Linked DNA regions of Homo sapiens: region 1 is linked to region 2. The links are contacts of gene promoters, found by promoter capture Hi-C in human tissues and cell types (Jung and others, 2019). All regions are on one chromosome and are shown on one strand. The core of a region is centred on a gene start or on the middle of the fragment in contact, and the rest is flanking DNA. Distances in the headings are between cores, read along the strand shown. Region 1 overlaps LINC01605 (long intergenic non-protein coding RNA 1605). Region 2 holds the start of ZNF703 (zinc finger protein 703).

What was found. The method cuts DNA at HindIII sites, captures the fragments that hold promoters and counts their contacts. A contact is called where the count stands out against the background at its distance.
Region 1: a contact is called between a fragment that was not itself captured here and the fragment with the promoter of ZNF703 in region 2, in 4 of the 25 tissues and cell types used here (IMR-90 fibroblasts, liver, mesendoderm cells and 1 more).

What each region holds. Positions count from the first base shown.
Region 1 is chr8:37,428,272-37,432,339 of GRCh38, reverse strand. The region is part of intron 3 of LINC01605 (long intergenic non-protein coding RNA 1605); the gene reads left to right. Among named protein-coding and RNA genes, the nearest start is that of LINC01605, 170 kb to the left of the region's middle. The HindIII fragment of the contact is 4,324 bases long and covers 1-3,472 here.
Region 2 is chr8:37,693,536-37,697,234 of GRCh38, reverse strand. ZNF703 (zinc finger protein 703) reads right to left here and starts at 1,453. Exons shown (of 2, transcript NM_025069.3): 1 at 1,013-1,453; 2 at 1-90. The coding sequence starts at 1,255. It overlaps LOC124901932 (a long non-coding RNA gene), which reads right to left and starts at 3,305. Exons shown (of 2, transcript XR_007060887.1): 1 at 3,235-3,305; 2 at 2,452-2,820. LOC124901933 (a long non-coding RNA gene) reads left to right here and starts at 1,554. Exons shown (of 2, transcript XR_007060888.1): 1 at 1,554-1,795; 2 at 2,252-2,490. RefSeq lists enhancers at 522-1,064, 1,065-1,608 and silencers at 1,343-1,442, 1,493-1,842, 2,630-2,814. The HindIII fragment of the contact is 17,905 bases long and covers 1-3,699 here.

The DNA of each region.
Region 1 (4,068 bases), core at 61-2,560, 260 kb after region 2:
TGTTAGGTCCAATGAACAGGTGAGGGAATGAGAGAAAGAAAAATATGGAAAAGTGACAGTAAGAAAGACAAAGGAAAAAAAGAGAAATAATAGGAATAAATGAGTAGCACTTAATAAAGTGCAAGGATGTATTCTTATTCTGGATCTTATTCTGATAAATCAGTAAAGACCTAATTATAAGAAGTGAGAAAAGCACAATAATATGCAAAAACACAGAGGTTTGAGGGGTAGGGCACTGGGTGATGGTGAAGGATGATTTCCTGGAGTTGTCATATTAGTTGCATCTTAAAAAAAAGTATAAAGAAGGGCAGAAGAGCCTCCAGGCTGGTGGTGGGCATGGGCAAAGGTGAAAAGCCATGAGAGCAGGAGGGGGTGAGATCCTCATTCTGTGTGGGATCCACATCTGGATGACCTCCCATGTCCATGCCTGTTCTCTTTGTTATACTCTTTTGGTAGAGATCATTTGTGGCCCACCCAAACATCTGTTCTTGCCTTCCTTTGTAATAACAGGTCCTCATGTTTTACAAGGCACTTTTGTTGTCTCTCTTGCAGCCATGTGTGGTCTTGTTACTAAGTGTTAGCCAGTGAGAGGTAAGTGGAAATATTGTGTGGGGCTTCTGGGCAGGCTTCTTGAAGGGAGGTGGGTCAGCTTGGAGGCACTCTTCTTGTCTTGCTGCCTCTTCTCTTCCTGGCCTAGAATACAGATGTGATGGCTTGAGCTCCACAGCTGTCTTGGATCCTGAGATGGCCTGGAGAGTGGACATCATTAGCTAGGATATGGAAGTAGAATTATTGAGTCTTCTGTTTTGCTGAACATGCTATACAAGTTGAGGCAGAGCTGAATTTCGTGGGAGGACAGGGTTTTAAAAGCTGTGTAAAGGAAGGGTAGACAGAGGAACAGAAAGCTCTTATAAAACAGTGTGGGCCCGTCCACTGTTACTCCAGAATGTCCCTTGGAGGTCTCATGAGGAGGTTAATACAATAATACATTCAAGAAAAACAGATCTTTTCTTGGGGATATGCACTAGGTGGGGGAGATTGTGAGTGAAGAAAGAAAAAATAAGAAAATTAAGCCAAAAAGCAAGTTTCTGTAAAACACGGAGCTGGGATAATTTGAACCCAGAACCCATATCTAACCCCAAAACCCCTTGCTTTTTCCATAGAACATACAAGAGGAGGCCCATGTTGATTCAGAGGATGAATGAGAGGTGAGATATCACAGTCACATTAGTGTCTCGAACTTCCTAAGGGCATCACAGGGATCTGGCTTACTTCCAGAAACAGACTTAACTCTGAGAATGGCTAGCTAATTTGATGGGACTATTTTTTTAACCTTTTGTTTCAGTAGAAGAGAGTGTTATACTGCTTATGTTCAAACCTTCACTTTCCAACCAATTTCTTTGGCTTTGATAGATTTATCCCATGAGTAACTTGGTGAAATCATAGACATTCTAAGAGTTTGCCTCCAAGCTTCCAAAAGGAGTGAGGAAGTGTTTTGTTGTCAGTTATTCCATTAAAAACTGGTGTGTGTGTGTGTGTGTTATGTAGTGTGTGATATCTATATGAGAAAGAAAGAAGCAAAGGAATTTAAAGTTCTGCTATAAAAGTGGGGAGTTCTGGCCCTGGAGGCCTTTATCCTTCCTGAGAGGCAGGATTTGTTAGCTACCATTTTAGCCTGCTAATGCCAGGTTCTGCCAGTCCTGTGACTTTGCCTTGGTAGAGAGCCTTGCCAGCTCTTCATTTTTGTTATCTTCTTGGTTTAAGGAAAAGCTCAACAAATCAGGCCTGGAGGGCCGTCTAGGAGCTACTGGAAACTTGCTTTGCATTTGTTCTTTATTGTTTCTTTTATTTCAGCCTGTGCTCAAGTATTGTCTTATTAAGGAAGGCTTATTTGTCTACCCTGACCTCCTAACACTCCTAATGTCCTTTCTTCCATATTCTTCTCCATAGCATGTATCAACTTTTGATATAAAACACATTTGGGCTGGGTGCGGTGGTTCACTCCTATAATCCCAGCACTTTGGGAGGCTGAGGTGGGTGAATCACCTGAGGAGTTCAAGACCAGCCTGGCCAACATGGTGAAACCTTGTCTCTACTAAAAACACAAAAATTAGCCAGGCGAAGTGGTGCACACCTGTAATCCCAGCTACCTGGGAGTCTGAGGCAGGAGAATCACTTGAACCCAGGAGGCGGAGATTGCAGTGAGCCAAGATCACACCACTGCACTCCAGCATGGGTGACAGAATGAGACTCTGTCTCAAAAAAAAAAAAACCAAAAAAATAGAAAACAAACAAGCAAATAAAAAACACACATTTGACCTGTTTACTTCATTGTCAAGTATCTCCTTACTAGAATGTAAACCCTATAAGGGCAGATTTTGTCTGTTTTGTTTACTGATATGACCCTAGTACCTAGGACAATGCCTGACACATAGTAGACACTCAATAAATTTTCATCGAATGCCATGGTTTCCAGCTATCTATTGGCAAAAGGTATTGTTTAATGGATAATCTGGTCATTAGGACCACATGGACATCTAGAGTTAGCAGAGAATAATTCCCACTTTCTCCTTGGAGTGGGCCATGGTAAGAATTTTTAGATCTTCCTCCACCTCAAGTTCACACTCACCTTCTTCTTTTCAGTTCCCACCAATTTGGTGTTTTAGGACAACAGCCTCTTCCCACCATGTTCTGTGTAAACTCTTTCTATGTTATCAGGAGCCTCTTTATGAGGTTCCAGCAGAGAAGATAACCTTATAACCTCTATATAGCAACATCCCTGAGCATGTCGGGGAGTGAGAAGAACCCTGGAGTGTCAAGAGACTTAGATCCCAGTTTTGACCATGCAGAGATCTAATTGTGGGCCTTGAGTACCTAATTCAACCCAGTACATCTTTGCCATTCACAAATTTATTGTTTGTGAACAACTTTGAAGGTGCATGGTGTGTGATATAATTTGTCATTTTTGTTGAGGCTTGAATTTGAGCTGCCTTGAGTCTTGGATACACATTTCTTAATGAGAACTGTATGGCTAAAAAGTAGCAGGAAGCAATTTGAACAGGCTTAAGAAATGGCTTAAGTAGGAAAGGTATGCATGGCTGGATACAACTGAAAGACTCAAGATCCAGGTTCTCAAGGTCTGTTAATGAGAATTTAGAATTCTTCTCATGCCATCCTTTCTTCAGTGGCTGTTGTTTGAGTGCATTTTATGACTTCGGTGCTAGGAAAGAGGTAGTGAGAGATAAAGAGAAGCTTAGACACTGCCTTTGTTCTCAAAGAGCTTATTGCCTAGTTGAGGGACAAGACTCTCCCTCTCCCCCTGCAATGAACACCTCCTCCAGTGAACACCAGTAGCTGACTGAGTTCACTAGTCCTGGGACTATTTCACATCATTGTGACATAACTGTGCCCTGAGGTAAACTCAGGTAGTCTTCATCCAAGAGAGAATAATGTTTTATTATTTTTTTCCTTCTAGGAACTATAGCGTTTGCTTTGTAGATTGAAGGAAAGATGAGGGGAACAGAATGAATAAAATATTGGAAATGTGAGTGAATCTGGTAGTGGAAATGCAGAGCAAAGAAATGACAACAAAGAATTCCCATGAGAGGGAATGTTCTGTGCTGGGCAGAAGTGAGCAAGAAGGTGTGCCCAGCTGGTGGAGGACTTAAATTGCCAGGCCCATGAGTTTAAGCTTCATAGGGCAACATGGAAATACTGCAGATATTGTTTAAAATGTAAAACCTTCTAGTGAAATATTTCATTTATGCAAACATACATATATATGTGAATATAACAAATGAAGAATAAAACAAACACCTGTGTGCTCTCTATTCCACTTAAGAATTAGAACATAGCCAATACTTTTGAATTCCTTTTGTGTTCCTCTTCCATATGTTTCCAATTCTGTGTTTCCTATTCCCCAAGAGTGATCATTGTTCTGAATTATATATTCATTATTCTCTTGCCTTTAGGTTTAATTTTACTATGTATATACTAAGTTTCATATAATTTTAAATTATATATAGATTAATTTCTTCCTGTTGTTTCAGGCTATTAACCTTACTTTTT
Region 2 (3,699 bases), core at 204-2,703:
GTTGAGTTTGGAGGAGGGCGGCGGGTCCGGCTTGCCGATCTGCGAGCAGGTCTGAGCCAGCAGCGCCAAGGGGCTCTTCTTGGCGTCCAGCTGTGGGAGACAGAAGCAGGGGGAGGGAGAAGGAGTGAGACTCAGAGGCCTGCGGGGCGAGCGGGGGCGCCCGGGGAGCTGGGCGGCGGCGCCACGGGGCGGGGCGGGCCTGGGGAGAGGGTCTGCGAGCGAGGGCCGGGCCGGGCGCGGCAGCTGGCGGAACTGCGCCCACACTGCCGCTGGGTCCCGGGGTGCGCCGCAGGCCCTGCGGAAGGAGTTCACCCAGGACCCCTGCGGGAGAAGGTGACGTCTCTGGAGTCGGGGCTGTGACTCGCCACTTCCCTCTAATGTCCCCCTCCTCCAGGCCCAGGAAAAAACTTATTCCTTTAGTTTGGGGGAACTTCGCTTGGGACGGGTTTCTGGCGATGGCGCCGCGGGGTAGGAGAGGGGAGCGCGGATTCTAAAGGAGGGGCTGCAGTTGGCGCTCTCTCCGTAGCCCCTCCCTCCCGGGGAGGGCACCCAGGGAAGAGGCAGGAAGAAAGATCCGGGATCGGGAGCGCCAGGGCGCCGTGCGCCCTCACCGGATGGGACAGAGGCGAAGTGGGACCCGGGCAGCCAGGGCTTCAAAGAAAACAGCCCGGCGTGGGGGGCGGGGAAGACCCAGCAGAGACCAACTCCTGGCTGGAAACTGGGGATCAGAGGAAAAGTAAAGGACCCAGAGGGGACTCCAGGAGCAAATCCAATCCGAGAGAAAACACGGAGCTCCGAAGGGCGAGCGTGGAAGGAGACCCTTCCACGGGGAAGCCTGGGGAAGCCCTGGTGGGCTCTGATCCCTCGGTTTTCTTCCCCTCCTCACTCAGCCCGCCAGCGTGACCAGACTTGGGTGTCGCACCGAGCCCCGGGGCGCTGGGAGCTGGGTCAGGGTCCCGGTCGCGGTGGGAGGAATGGGGCCGGCGCCCGGGGGCAGCGGCCGGGGACTGACCTCAATGGGGCTGACGGGAGTGGAGGACAGCGGCTGCAGGTACTCCGGGTGCAGGAGGTGACCGGTGTGAGCGCTCAGCATCTTCAGGACCCTGATCGGGAGCCGGTTCGCCTGGCGCAGGGGGTCCGCCGGTGGCAAGAGGGACACCGCTGCCGGCACCGCCGGCCTCTTCCCGCCGCCGCCGCTGCCGCTGCCGCTGCTTTCGGGTGTCCTTGGGTTAGATCCAGCGGGCGAATCGCTCATTTGGAGGAGGCAGCGCCGCTGGGGGGGCGGGGAGGGCGGGGGAGCACCGGGGAGGCGAGCTCCCGGGGCGGGTGGGCTCGCTCCGCAGCGTCGATCGCGGTGCAGCGGGAGCTGCGCCTCCTCGCCGCCTCCCCTCCTCCACCGACGCCTCCGCCGCCGCCGCCACCGCCGCTGGCCCCGGCTAGCAACACAAAAACCTTCGCCTTCCTCGAGCCGCACGTCAAATAGCCGCGATCGGCAGCCACACTTCAAAGGGATCGCCGCGCCCGCCCAATCGCAGCTCTCGCCGGGACCCCGGGGCGGGGAGAGCGGCGGGCTGAGGCCGGCTCCATCGGTGGGCGGGGAGAGCCTTAAAGGGGCCGCGCCGCGCGCCGCCGCTGCCTCGGTCTCGGCCGCTCCCGGGATTCCTCCCCTCCCCCCGACTGGGCCTTCCTCGCCCTGGGGTCCCCCGCCTGGGACGGGACTTCTCCGGGACCCTGAGCTCTGCGCCCCGTCCTCCTTTCCGGCCGCTCTCTCTCCTCTCTCCCTTCTCACCACTGGGTGGGTGGGGGGTGATGCTGGCGGGGGCTGTAACCCCGCCCGCCGTGTGTGTCCGAGGTGGGGTGGGGTGGGGTGGGGTGGGGTGGGAGGGATCGCACGGCGCGGGCTCTGGGACGCTGGAGTTCAAGCCTCTCCCAGAGGCCGCCTGGGGGCAGGCCTCGCCTCGGGAGCCCGGGTCCTTCTCCAGAGCTGCTCCGGCTCTCCTCGGCCCCGCTCTCCTTCCCCTACTTGGCCTCCCCTTGGTGTGTTCACTTGGAAGCGCCCGAGCCTCGGAGGCACCCACTGTTCTCGGGACGCGGCGTAGGCAGCTCCAACTACTTTGAGCCCGTCTTGTCTGAAGCCTGCAAGTTTGTCTCCCTTCTGGAGTGACATGGTCGGCGACCAAGCGCGGGACCCCAGGCTGTGCGCGCTGTGCCTGCGCCCTGCGTTAGAGGCTCGGTGTCTGGTGTGTTACAGGCTTCTTACCGTGTCCTGCTGAGGGGCGTGAAGTTCCTCACTGTACCGCGCCCAGCTGCTACGAGGAGAGACCGAGATCACGGGCGAGGCGGGTGTCCCTGGAGGGGGATCTCTCTCTAAGCGCTGCTCGGCAACACAACCCCTCCGCCCCCCCATCCTTCTCACTCCGGGGGAAAAAGCACTTGCTTTCCCCAGGCAAATTTCGGGATAAAAACTTTTAATTAAAAATAACAATACCCTTCCCGACTCCCTGCGCCTTTCTGATACAGTGTGCATTGCTAGCTTCGCCCTGGGCAGAGATTTTACGTAGTCATAGTCCTGACATCCAAGTTCCGGATCCGCCGCTTTTCCGGAGGCGAAGTTGGTCCTTTGGGTGCCGAACTCTGGGGAGCCCACTTCTCCGTGCGCTCGGCGGCCAGTGGAGGCGCGCTGGTGTCACTGCCTGGCTCCCAGCACCACTTTTCCAGTCCCGATCCATCACTCCGGTTGTCAGGGCTGTCACTCGGGGCGTATTGCTCTAGGATGGCAGGTTCCCGACTCTGCCGCGCTGACCGACGCCTTGAGATGACCTGAGAACCCAAGATGGGGAGAGGTGATTTCAAAGGAGCTCTTCAAACAGAAAGAAATAGCTATCACGAATCTGTATCTTGCCCAGTAGTAGAAGACAGCAGACCCCACTTCCAGGCAGTATCAGTCATACCCAAAACTAAGTGCACTCCCTGGATCCATACTGTATTTTGGGCAGCACTTATAGAATGCTTAGAAATTACACAAGCTGTAATTACATGTTCCCCAATTTTAATCTTGGTAAAATCATGTTACGCCGAATGGAAAGGGGTACCCTGACTGTGAGATGGATCCCACATTGCAGCAAGAGGGGTGCGGGAATGAAAAGGGAGGGAGTGATCTCATTTATTTCATCGTGGCAGGCTTCTCATGCCGACTTCTGTGCGGGCAGCCATTGCCATCACTGCAAACACCACCTGTAAAAGTCCACTGCAGGGCTGTGTCCACCCACAAGCCATTTTGCCTTCGGGAGACTGCTGTGTAGAGCGGGAAGGGCAGAAGGAAGCCAGGGTGCAGAGAGGCTGGCCTTTGCAGGAACGCAGAGGAGGAGGAGCTGGGCAGAGGGGAGACCTAGGAGGCTATGAAAGATGAAAGTCTCCCTGATTATTGTAACCAGCCCAGCTGTGAGAGGGAGCCAAGGGATCCTTCTAGGGCCTGAGCAGATGTGTGTTAGAAATGATTAATGGGAAATAAGTCAGGAGGAAAAGGGGAGGGGAGAGGGAAGAGGTATTTAGGAATTTGGAAAACAGAGCAGGAGGCAGCTGAAAGGAGAGAGGGGAGAAGAGAGAGGACAATAGAATATTCACTCTCTGTTTGGAGAGGAAAAGAGAAGGAAAAAGGTAGTGAATGAAGGAAAGGAAGGGAGAGAAGAGGAGGTAAGG